Regions from separate parts of the Homo sapiens genome. Here region 1 is linked to region 2. Evidence: promoter capture Hi-C in 16 types of primary human blood cells and fetal thymus (Javierre and others, 2016). All regions are on one chromosome and are shown on one strand. The core of a region is centred on a gene start or on the middle of the fragment in contact, and the rest is flanking DNA. Distances in the headings are between cores, read along the strand shown.

Region 1 (4,940 bases), core at 1,211-3,710, 2.1 Mb before region 2:
TATTAGAGAATGTGTGTGCAGATGGGAAGAATTCATGGGAGAGAGAGACATTGATGGAGCAGGAGAGAACGTGACTAACTGCAGGGATGAGGTCCTTGAGAAAGCAAAAGATGACCCAGAACACAAGAGGGGAAGGTGACCTGTGATTCAAGCCGAGATGCTCACACAGAGTAATTTATATTAGTAAAAAATAGGAGCAACCTAAATGTGCAACAATAGAAAAATTGTTGTTTAAATAGTTATAGCATATCCACAAAATAGAAAGTCATAAAAATTATTTTTCTTTTTTTTTTGAGACAGAGTCTTGCTCTATGGCCCAGGCTGGATTGCAATGGTGTGATCTTGGCTCACTGCAACCTCTGCCTGCCGGGTTCAGATGATTCTCCAGCCTCAGCCTCCTGAGTAGCTGGGATTACAGGCGCTCGCCACCACGCCTAGATAATTTTTGTATTTTTAGTAGAGACGGGGTTTCACCATGGTGGCCAGGCTGGTCTCGAACTCCTGACCTCGTGATCTGCCTGCCTCGGCCTCCCAAAGCGCTGGGATTACAGGTGTGAGCCACCACGCCCAGCCAAAAATCACTTTTTTGGGTTATGATGTATGTGAAAAAAGTAATGTACAAAAAAATTTTAATTTTGAAAAGAAAAATACACATCTGTCTGTATATGTATAAAAAGTTATGAAAAGAAATGCAACAAGACATTCCCAATGGGCTGGGCGCAGTGGCTCATGGGAGGCCGAGGTGGGCAGATCATTTGAGGTCAGGAGTTTGAGACTAGCTTGACCAACATGGTGAAAGCCGCCTCTACTAAAAATACAAAAATTAGCCCAGCATGGTGGTGGGCACCTATAATCTCAGCTGCTTGGGAGGCTGAGGCAAGAGAATTGCTTGAACCTGGGAGGCGGAGGTTGCAGTGAGTTGAGATCATGTCATTCCACTCAAGTCTGGGCAACAGAGCAAGACTCTGTCTCAAAAAAAAAAAAAAAAAAGACATTACCAGTGGGTATTTTGTGTATTATTTTGGGTGACCCATTTTTAAATACTTTTAAAAAGTGTCCAAATTTTCCATAATGAATATGAATTATTTGTATTATCAAGGAAAAAATCATTCATATTATTGTTTTTTTAAAAAAGGTGGCACGAGGCACGGCATTTTGCCGTCAAGCCAGATAGCTATTTCCTTTTGTTTGATATGTGCAGATACCACAGGAGTGATAGTGTTAAATTTAGGTTAATTCCACTTTGATTTTCTCGTCTTATTCTTACCTTATCTGTTTTATCTCCTTTGTGGCTTTAGGCCTGTTTCACTCAGAGACGTCACGTTATGGCTTGTGCTGTTTCTAGGGCACTAGGTAAGCACCCACATCCTTTTGAACATGCGAAGCTAATACATATGTAACAAACTTGCACGTTGTGCACATGTACCCTAAAACTTAAAGTATAATTAAAAAAAAAAAAAGTAAATAGTCAAGCCAGAAAAGCCTAACAGGAACCTGCCAGATACCTTCACCCCAGTACCGCTCATTAAAGGGGGATGACTTAATGGGAGGACCCTGTACACTTCCAGGGAATCCCAATAACATATTTAACTGAGAAATGATAGTTTTAAGTAACTGAAGCCACAAAAACAGATCTGTTTTCTCAATGATGAATATTTGAGCAACTACTTGAGCTGGGATAAGTGGCTTCTCAGGAACCTCATGAGCCCCCAACAGAATTCAGGGCGGTTATTAAAAAAGAAAGACAAATGGATGCTGGGAGATGCCCAATGTTGACTGCGAACTGTGATCCAGGAATGCTGATCTTCTCAACCTGTAACTACAAATTAAGTGGTCATATTTCCACTAAAATAGGCTTTCATTCATTTGTCAAATAGATGTTAAGCACTCAATAAGTGCCAGAAAGTGTGCAAGGGGACAGATACACAATGTGATATACAAGACGAGACCCAGCTGCTGGGGAAGACAGACAATTAAAGAAATCACGAGCATAGGTTAAATGCCACCACAAAGGAAGTACAATGAGCTAGAACGGAAGCGTATAGCAGGACCCAGCCTTCCAGAAAGAAGAGAAATTCCATGGGTGGGAATTAGCAGGGTGAATTGGAAATAAAAGAGTGGTCAGGCAAGGAAAATGTGTGTGAGATGACCCAGAGAAGACCATGAGAGCTTTAAGGAACTAGAGACATCAGTAAGGCTGAAGTGCAAGGAGAAAGTAGTGGTGAGAGGTGCAGCTGACAAGAAAGAACTGGGAATTTGGGGTTGGAGATGACTTAAGATAGGGGGATCAGGAGGCTGTGACAGCAGGACAGAGGGAAGGAAACTGATTAAGAGTTATTTAGGAAGTACAATTGACAGGATTTACTATTAACTGAATATGGTAAAAGCTTAGATGACTGACCTTAGACTTCTCTTTGCCAATAAAAGCATGAAATGCTATAATCCTCAAATCACTGCTTTAGCTATATCTCACAATTTTGACATGTTATATTTTCATTTTCATTCAGTTTGAAATACTTTCCAATTTCCATTTAGAAGCTTATTAATTTCCAAATATTTGTGGCTTTTCCATATATTATACCTTTCTCTTATTGCTATTTAGTTTTATTCCACTGTGGTTACTATTTTAAATTTATGTAAGCTTATTTTATAGCCTAATGTATGATCTGGTATAGCGAATGTTTTACAAGCACTTATGAAAAATATGTGTTCTGCTGTTGTTGAGTAAAGCCATCTATACATGTCAGTGAGGTCAATTGATTAATACTGTGTTCGAGTCTTCTATATCCTTACTGATTTTTTATCTACTTGTTCTATAAATTATTCAGAAATTAGTTTGATTCCCTTGAGGTTTACTTATAAGCTTTTTGGGGCCTAGAGTAGCCTTTATTCCAGGACTGATTTGACTCCTCTTCTAAGTCATGGCCTTTCTGGGGCTTGTTCTAAATGCCCCATATATTCAGTGAGGTCTCTCTCTCTGGCTGGAGGGAACTTGAGTGATTTTTGGCTTTGCAATTTTAGGGAATTGTTCATTTTAGAACTCCTCACCAGGTGCAGTGGCTCATGCCTGTAATCCCAGTGCTTTGGGAGGCCGAGGCTGGCAGATCACTTGAGGCCAGGAGTTTGAGACCAGCCTGGCCAGCATGGTGAGACTTCATCTCTACTAAAAATATAAAAATTAGCTGGGTGTGGTGGTGGGTGCCTGTAATCCCAGCTACTCAAAAGGATAAGGCATGAGAATCACTTGAACATGGGAGGTGGAGGTTGCAATGAGCTGAGATCATGCCACTGCACTCCAGCCTGGGCGACAGAGTGAGTGAGACTCCATCTCAAAAAAAAAAAAAAAAAGAACTCCTCATAATTACTCTTTCACCAGAAGCTTTTCTTATCTGGCCTTATATTTCTATAGACTTCTGTTTTAAAAAGATTCCATGAACTCATGTGCAGATTTCCGGAGTACTTTTATCTGTGTAGCCCCTTCCCTTGAGAACTCTGCCTCACAGGTTCTTCACAGAGCCGCCTGGCCTTCCCCATCTCTGACCTCTGTCTCTGCAGCTCTGTGAAGCTGCCTCACTTTTTTGGAGTTCTCCCTCCCTGGACTGTAGCCCAGGACTTATCTCTAGGCAGAAAGGCCAGCTGATGGTAGGGCTTACCTTGTCTTCTTCCTTTTTCTCAGGAATCACAGTCTTGTTTTGCCCTATATCCAAATAGTGGCTTTCTATATTTTATCCTTTTTTTATAGTTGCTTACAGAGGGAGGGAGATCACAGGCCGTCTTACTCCCTCATGGCCAGAAGCATGAGATCACTAGCAGATCATTAATGAGATCCAGAGACGATGGAGAAAGCAATGAGTCATGCGCAGTTTTGAGGTTACTGCCATGGGCAAGCAGGTGGATGATGGTCCCATTCACGGAGATGGCAAAATCCAGGGTGATAAACATGGGTAGGGGAGGGCATGAAAGAACTTCATGGGTTTACTGTTGTGTATGTTGGATCTGAGTCACTTGCAAGTCATTAAAGAAGCGAGTAAGCAGTGGAGGTTACAGAACAGCTCCCTCACGAGCTTCCACCTCCTTCTCTTCATTCCACTCTGGGCTGCAGTTGCCATGGACTAGTGACCCCTTCCCAGGGTAATCAGCAGTGGTTATAACCACTTATTTTAGAAGAAAAATTTATTTGTGAAATTTAGTTGGGATAATCCAGCCCCACAGTCTTCCAAATTATTAGGGTGCATGGCCCAGCATTGGTACATTTCCCAAAGGCTGGATTGTCCTTTCTAAACAACACAACAGATGAAACACCAGTAACCTAGTGCAAGTAGCACGGCCCCAAGCCCAGTTCATTCCTTCCCTTTTGCAAGCTGCACGGTCCCAAGCCCAGTTCATTCCTTCCTTTTTGCATAGCACGGCCCCAAGCCCAGTTCATTCCTTCCCTTTTGTAAGTTGCACAGCCCCAAGCCCAGTTCATTCCTTCCCTTTGTTTTTCCCCCGACCTGACCTTAACTTACTTTTCCTCCTGTCTTTCTCTTTTTCCTTTACAATGATCTCTCCCCCACTGCAGAGAAGTGAAGAGAAGGCCAAGCTGTCAGGGTTTCCTACAGCATGGGGAACTTCTCTAGGGACCGCCTGTGAGGAGATATGCACCAACTCCACAAAAATAAGCAATAAAATATTTGCACATTGTGGTCTATAGCCATATTTGGGAAAGAAAATTATTCTAAAAAATTATTCTAAAGAAACACAATCTGCAGCAATGTAACTCTGACACCGTAATCACAACCTTTACATTATTATCCAAAGGGGTTAGCTCCTTGGAGCCTAAGCCACATTATATCTTCTTCCTGGAGGAGGTTCATTCCCCACTGGGGTGATTTCCAAGAAGAAAGAAGGCCTCAAAAATAAATTCAAGTTTCTATCCCTTAGGAGGCAGGAAATCGCAG
Region 2 (4,931 bases), core at 2,342-4,841:
AGCAACAAGCGGCCACCGCCCCCACCCCGGGGCGGGCAGGTGAGTCCCCCCCCGACCCGCCCCCAGCCCAGAGGGCCGCCCTGCGCTCTCGCCCCCGGCCCCTGGCCGCGCGTGCCCCAGGTCCCCCAGTAGCGCCCCAGCGCCGCTGCTGCTCAGACACACCGAAATAGGAATGATTTAATCCAACGACACCTCCCAGGGCTGCCCAGTCCCGGTTCCGCCGGCTCCTGAGATTGGGGAGGGGCAGAATTGGGTGGAACTCGGGCTGGGGGGCGGAAATGGCCCGAGTGGGAGGGAAGGCGCGGAGTCGGACGCTACCTTGTAACCGAGTTAGATTTCTGCAGAAGAGGAGGACGAAGGTCGCCCACGGACCCTCGGGTGACCTCGGTGCGGCCTGGTGGCCGGGCACACCCGCGCATGGACGAGGTCCCTCCCAGGGGTCTCCCTGCAGGGGTCTCCGGGGAGGTAGTGGGCACGTGGGTCCTTAACCTCTCCATTGCATCATCCCCATCCCGGTGGGTACAGAAGCGCAGCAACCCCGCGGTGCTCCCGGAAGACACCGCGTCTCCAACATTTACACGGAGATGCTGCTCGGCTCAGGTCGGGTCCGTACGCTTCCCGAGGTGCGTACTACGCGAGCCACACACATCACTACCGATATTCCTGAGAAAGTCGGTGCCACAGTAAGTCAGCTGCAAGCGTGGGGTGGCCGGTGACGCGCTGTGCCCGTGAATACGCCCATTGTGCGGGTCAGACGCAGCCAGGGCGCAGCGTTCAGGAGGCGGGTGGGCAGCCGAACTTTCACTGGCCACGAGCGCTTCACCTTCTAGAATTTGCCAGGGACTAGGCATCAACTCCCAGTGAGAAAATCACATGTGAAGTTGGAAGACACATGCTGCCCTTCACTTTTCTACGGAGTTCACATCAGTTTCAGCAATCCGCGTTCTCAGTTCGCTTTGCCCGGGCGAGTGGGTTCCATCATCACCTGAACCAAAAACGCACCAGGGCGCGCGTGCCCAGGCACCAAGGCCAGAGAAACCGCACGTTTCGAGTCCCCAGTTGCTGAGAAACAATCACAGCCCTCCTCTTTTCTCCCCCTTCTGCAGGTTCCGACCTGAATCTGAAAGTGCTTCTAAACCCCATGCTTCACAGAACGTTCGGAGGGGGAGGCGCTCCGTGGGGGCTGCTGCGTGCCCATGTAGCCGAACTGACTCGAATAAAAGCGTGTCCACGTCTACATCACACATCTGTGTAAATGCAGAAGCCTGCGGATGCGCGGGGCTGGCCAGACTTCACAGTGTGCAGACACATGGGCTCATGCACGCGCACGCGCGCGCTCACACACACACCCCAAATTACCTCCGGGATGGAGAAAGCCGCTGCGGATTGGCCAGCAGAGCCGTCACTCACGCCCAGGGGGCAGGGAGACTTCGCAAAGCTGTTTCCTTTTTTTTTTTTCCTCCTCTCCTCCCTACCGTTTCATTTAATGGTAAAACAACAGCAGAGCTCTGAAAGTTAGCCATCTGCGCAGAGTTTGCCTTCTTTAAGGAGGGAGGCGTCAGACGATATCCATTTAAATATATTTTGTACTTCCACAAAGGATGGAAAGGGAAATTCACGAAGGGAGTGGAGGCGGAAAGGGAGCTCCGAGAAAGAAGGAGGGGTCATTCCGCGGGGGGCGGGGGGGGGGGCGGGGGCCGACGCAGGGGAAAGAGTTGCTCTCTACACCGAAAAGGGACTTTGACCTTCCATTGATCTCGAAATTCAAAAACGTTTCTTCACAGGTCAGATTGTAACAAACACTCGTTCCTAATTTATGAACTCGCCGTTTTGATTTTATTATTTAAGCATGCGCCAGCAATCGTGTTTCCTTAAGAAAGAACTGACCTATTTTTGGCTGGAGATAAACGATCATGTTAACAGATGTTAATCTTGTAATCTGTTTTTCCTGTAAGCACTTTACCTAGCCGGGTTTCAGACCTTAAAAATAACATCTTTTCCAAAAAGACCTGACGTCACAATTCACTCCCTGAAAAATCACACTCCCCCTCCAGTTTCTTCCCCTGCAATGATTTCAAAGACATTAAATCTTTTCCACTTTATAAATGCTGATCTGTTCTGCCTCTACTCCCACAGGCTCTTATTTGCATTTCAAATTCCACAGGTTACACCAGTCGCCTTTTCAAAAAATGTAAACCAACAATGCAGCAGCAAATGGCTTTTTGTGCATCTGGATTAAATAAAGCACAGAATGAATATATTTAAAAAGAGGGCTGCGCAAGTTGATCTTTGCACACCCGGAGACCCGGTGACTCTTTATCAGCGGAATGAGTAAGACACACACACAGCCCCCAGAGCTCCCGGTCTGCTGCGGGAAGCTTATTAACGCTGATAATAGATGAGGCTGACTTACAGACCCACATTTTTCGGGTAAAAGGCTGGTTCCCTCTGGTCCCTAATTGCGGGGGTCCACTGGCTTTCCTCACCACACACATAAACTGCTGCTTTTAAATACCCCACTCGGCTGCCATTTAACAAACTTATTCATACAAAGTTTCGTTAAAACTTGAGGCGGTTTAATCTAAATACTGATCGTAACTATTCAGTCTGTTAGTTCTCCCTGGAAATGGCAGCGGAGGCGCCTCCCCCCACCTCCCGCCCAACCACACACACCCCACCGCATTCTTCCTTCATACACCCGGGTTCATCTCGCCACCGAGGCCTCCCCCACCCGCACCCGGCGGGGCGCAGCTCCGAGGAGTCCCTGCCCACCCCTCTCCGAGTCGGTGCCAGACCCTCGCCCCCACCCCCACCCCCGCCCGAACTTCCCTTCCAGGACCTCTCACTTCTTTAACGTTAGGGTCACTTAGAAGCTCCCAGCAGACTGGCAAGCAGCCGGGGAGGGGGCCGTAAAAAACAAGGCCACCCCCACCTCCACGCAAACACGTCCCCTAGGCAGCAGCGCGCGGTGCCCACAGGCATCGATCCCATCCGCCAAACCCTTAATAATTGAAGCGGCTCCTCGGGCCCGCAGCCCCATCACCCACCTTCATTAGCCGGAGCGTTTTACTTTAAAGTAAGGCAATTTGCTCTTTGTCTCCTAATGGATGGAGAGCGCATCCGAGCTCCCCTCCTCCCGCGTCGCCTTTGACAAAGTGTACAAAGCCAGAGCCTCTTCCGCGCTCCCACCCCGGCCCCCACCCCGCCCCTCCACTGCGGTAAAAACCACCTCCCGGGCGCTCGCCCCGCCGCCCGAAGTTGCATCTTCCCCTATCCTGGAATTGACGAGCAGAGCAACTACCCACCGGGAAAGCCAAGTAGCCCTCCCCGCGCCCGGGGGGCCCCTCCCCGGCGCACCCCCCTCCCCAGCGCCTCCCCCCCTACCCCCAGCGGCGCACACCAGAGTACGGGGCACGTCGGGGCTCCGGGCCCCGCGCCCACCGCCCGCCCGCGGCCCCTGCGGCGCAGCCCTCCCCCCGCCCGCGGCCCCTACCTTGGCAGGGAGGCGGCGGGCCTGGGGAGGAGGACGCGCACGCCCCGCGCATCTGAAGGTGAAGCCGAGCGCCCGCGGCGCGGAGCCGAGCGCTGCACTAGACCGACCGCGCCAGCTGCGCCCGGGCGCGGGGGACGCGCGAGGGCGCGCGGGGCCCGCCACGCGCCCGGCCCCCTCCTCGCGCCGCCCGCGCGCGCCCCGGACGCGTCCGCCCCGCGGGGGCCCCGGCGCGAGCCGGGCTCGGGGGGCTGCGCGGCACGGGGAGGGGGCCGGGCGCTCACGGCCCGGCGCAGGCCGGAGGCTTCCCCCAGCCTGGAAATGGTCTGCCCTGTAGGAAACGCACACTCCACTATTGTCTCATCAGCACAAAGTTCTGCCACACTGAGGGGACAGTCTGGAGGCTTGCAGTGACTCAGACACAGCCAATTCCTCCCCTAATAGCACTGAATCACGGTTCCAGCGGCCAGTGGTCGCCCCTCGTCAAGGTCTAAGGCTGCTGCAGCCCCGGCTCCCGGAGGCCGTTTCCGCGCGCACACGCGCATCCATACGTACAGACGTGCTCGGGATGCGGGTCCCGCCGGCGGGTACCTGGGCACTGCGCCCCATCTGGACTGAAATGGGGACACCCCTTCGGGGGTCCCAGGTGCGTGTGCATTACACACGGCGTAGCGTGTGCGTGTCACTCAACTTCCTGGTAAATGCCTCTGGGGGTGTTCAGATGCAGGATCAATACATTAAGTCCTGAATCAAGGGTCACAGAGGTCCCGCTGGAAAGACTTCAAACAGCGGCTCTGCCACCCGGCCATTTAAAAATGAAGGGGTTGTTTACCGGTAGCCTCGAAAGTTCAACTCTTATTTTTCTGTTCTTAAAACTTCATTTCTTCACCTCACCTACTCCCCACGAGCAGTAGTTAGTTGTAATAAGTTGAGTCTGGGACTAGAAATCCTAATTTGACTCCAAAACGCTCTCCTGTTACAGGGCAGGGATGGCCGGGGTGGGGGAGGGGAGGGCGGGCGCGCGGGGGCGGGGGAGGGGCGGGTCGGAGCTAGCGAGGGCGAGCGCCCCTTCACGGCCGGTGACGTAGACCCGGGGAGCTGCGGCCTGCGGAGGGGTAACACTATCTTCTCCCACCAGGCTCCTGGCCGTATTGTTCTCCTTCTCCTCGTGATAACTCCGCAGTGGAGGTGGATTCCGTCCAAGACGCCCAACGTGGCTCCGCGTAGCAATCAGCGCTGCAATCCTGGCGGTTACCTCAGCGGCGGCGTCTCTCTCTGCGCCTCACACTCGCAGCCCGCGGCCCTCCCCAACTTAGGGCGTTTACAAAAGAAACTACTCCAGACGCGCTGCAAAGGGAGGCGCATGTGCCCGAAAGCTGGCGATCAGACGGGGGGGGCATTCTGCATGTGTGATGTTTCTGGGGGCGGTGGGGAGTGTGTG

What was found. Contacts are between HindIII fragments. The CHiCAGO score rates a contact against its expected background, and 5 or more counts as called.
Region 1: a fragment that was not itself captured here is called in contact with the fragment with the promoter of ZNF516 in region 2 in 1 of 17 cell types (naive CD8 T cells); the score reaches 6.1 in naive CD8 T cells.

What each region holds. Positions count from the first base shown.
Region 1 is chr18:74,372,313-74,377,252 of GRCh38, forward strand. No RefSeq gene overlaps it. Among named protein-coding and RNA genes, the nearest start is that of LINC01922, 35 kb to the right of the region's middle. The HindIII fragment of the contact is 151 bases long and covers 2,386-2,536 here.
Region 2 is chr18:76,491,651-76,496,581 of GRCh38, forward strand. It overlaps ZNF516 (zinc finger protein 516), which reads right to left and starts at 3,592. Exons shown (of 7, transcript NM_014643.4): 1 at 3,494-3,592. It overlaps ZNF516-DT (ZNF516 divergent transcript), which reads left to right and starts at 3,689. Exons shown (of 2, transcript NR_164145.1): 1 at 3,689-4,136; 2 at 4,629-4,931. It overlaps ZNF516-AS1 (ZNF516 antisense RNA 1), which reads left to right and starts at 2. Exons shown (of 2, transcript NR_136504.1): 1 at 2-39; 2 at 1,107-2,268. RefSeq lists enhancers at 654-703, 1,384-1,523 and silencers at 2,622-2,711, 3,412-3,511, 3,642-3,701. The HindIII fragment of the contact is 7,170 bases long and covers 2,377-4,931 here.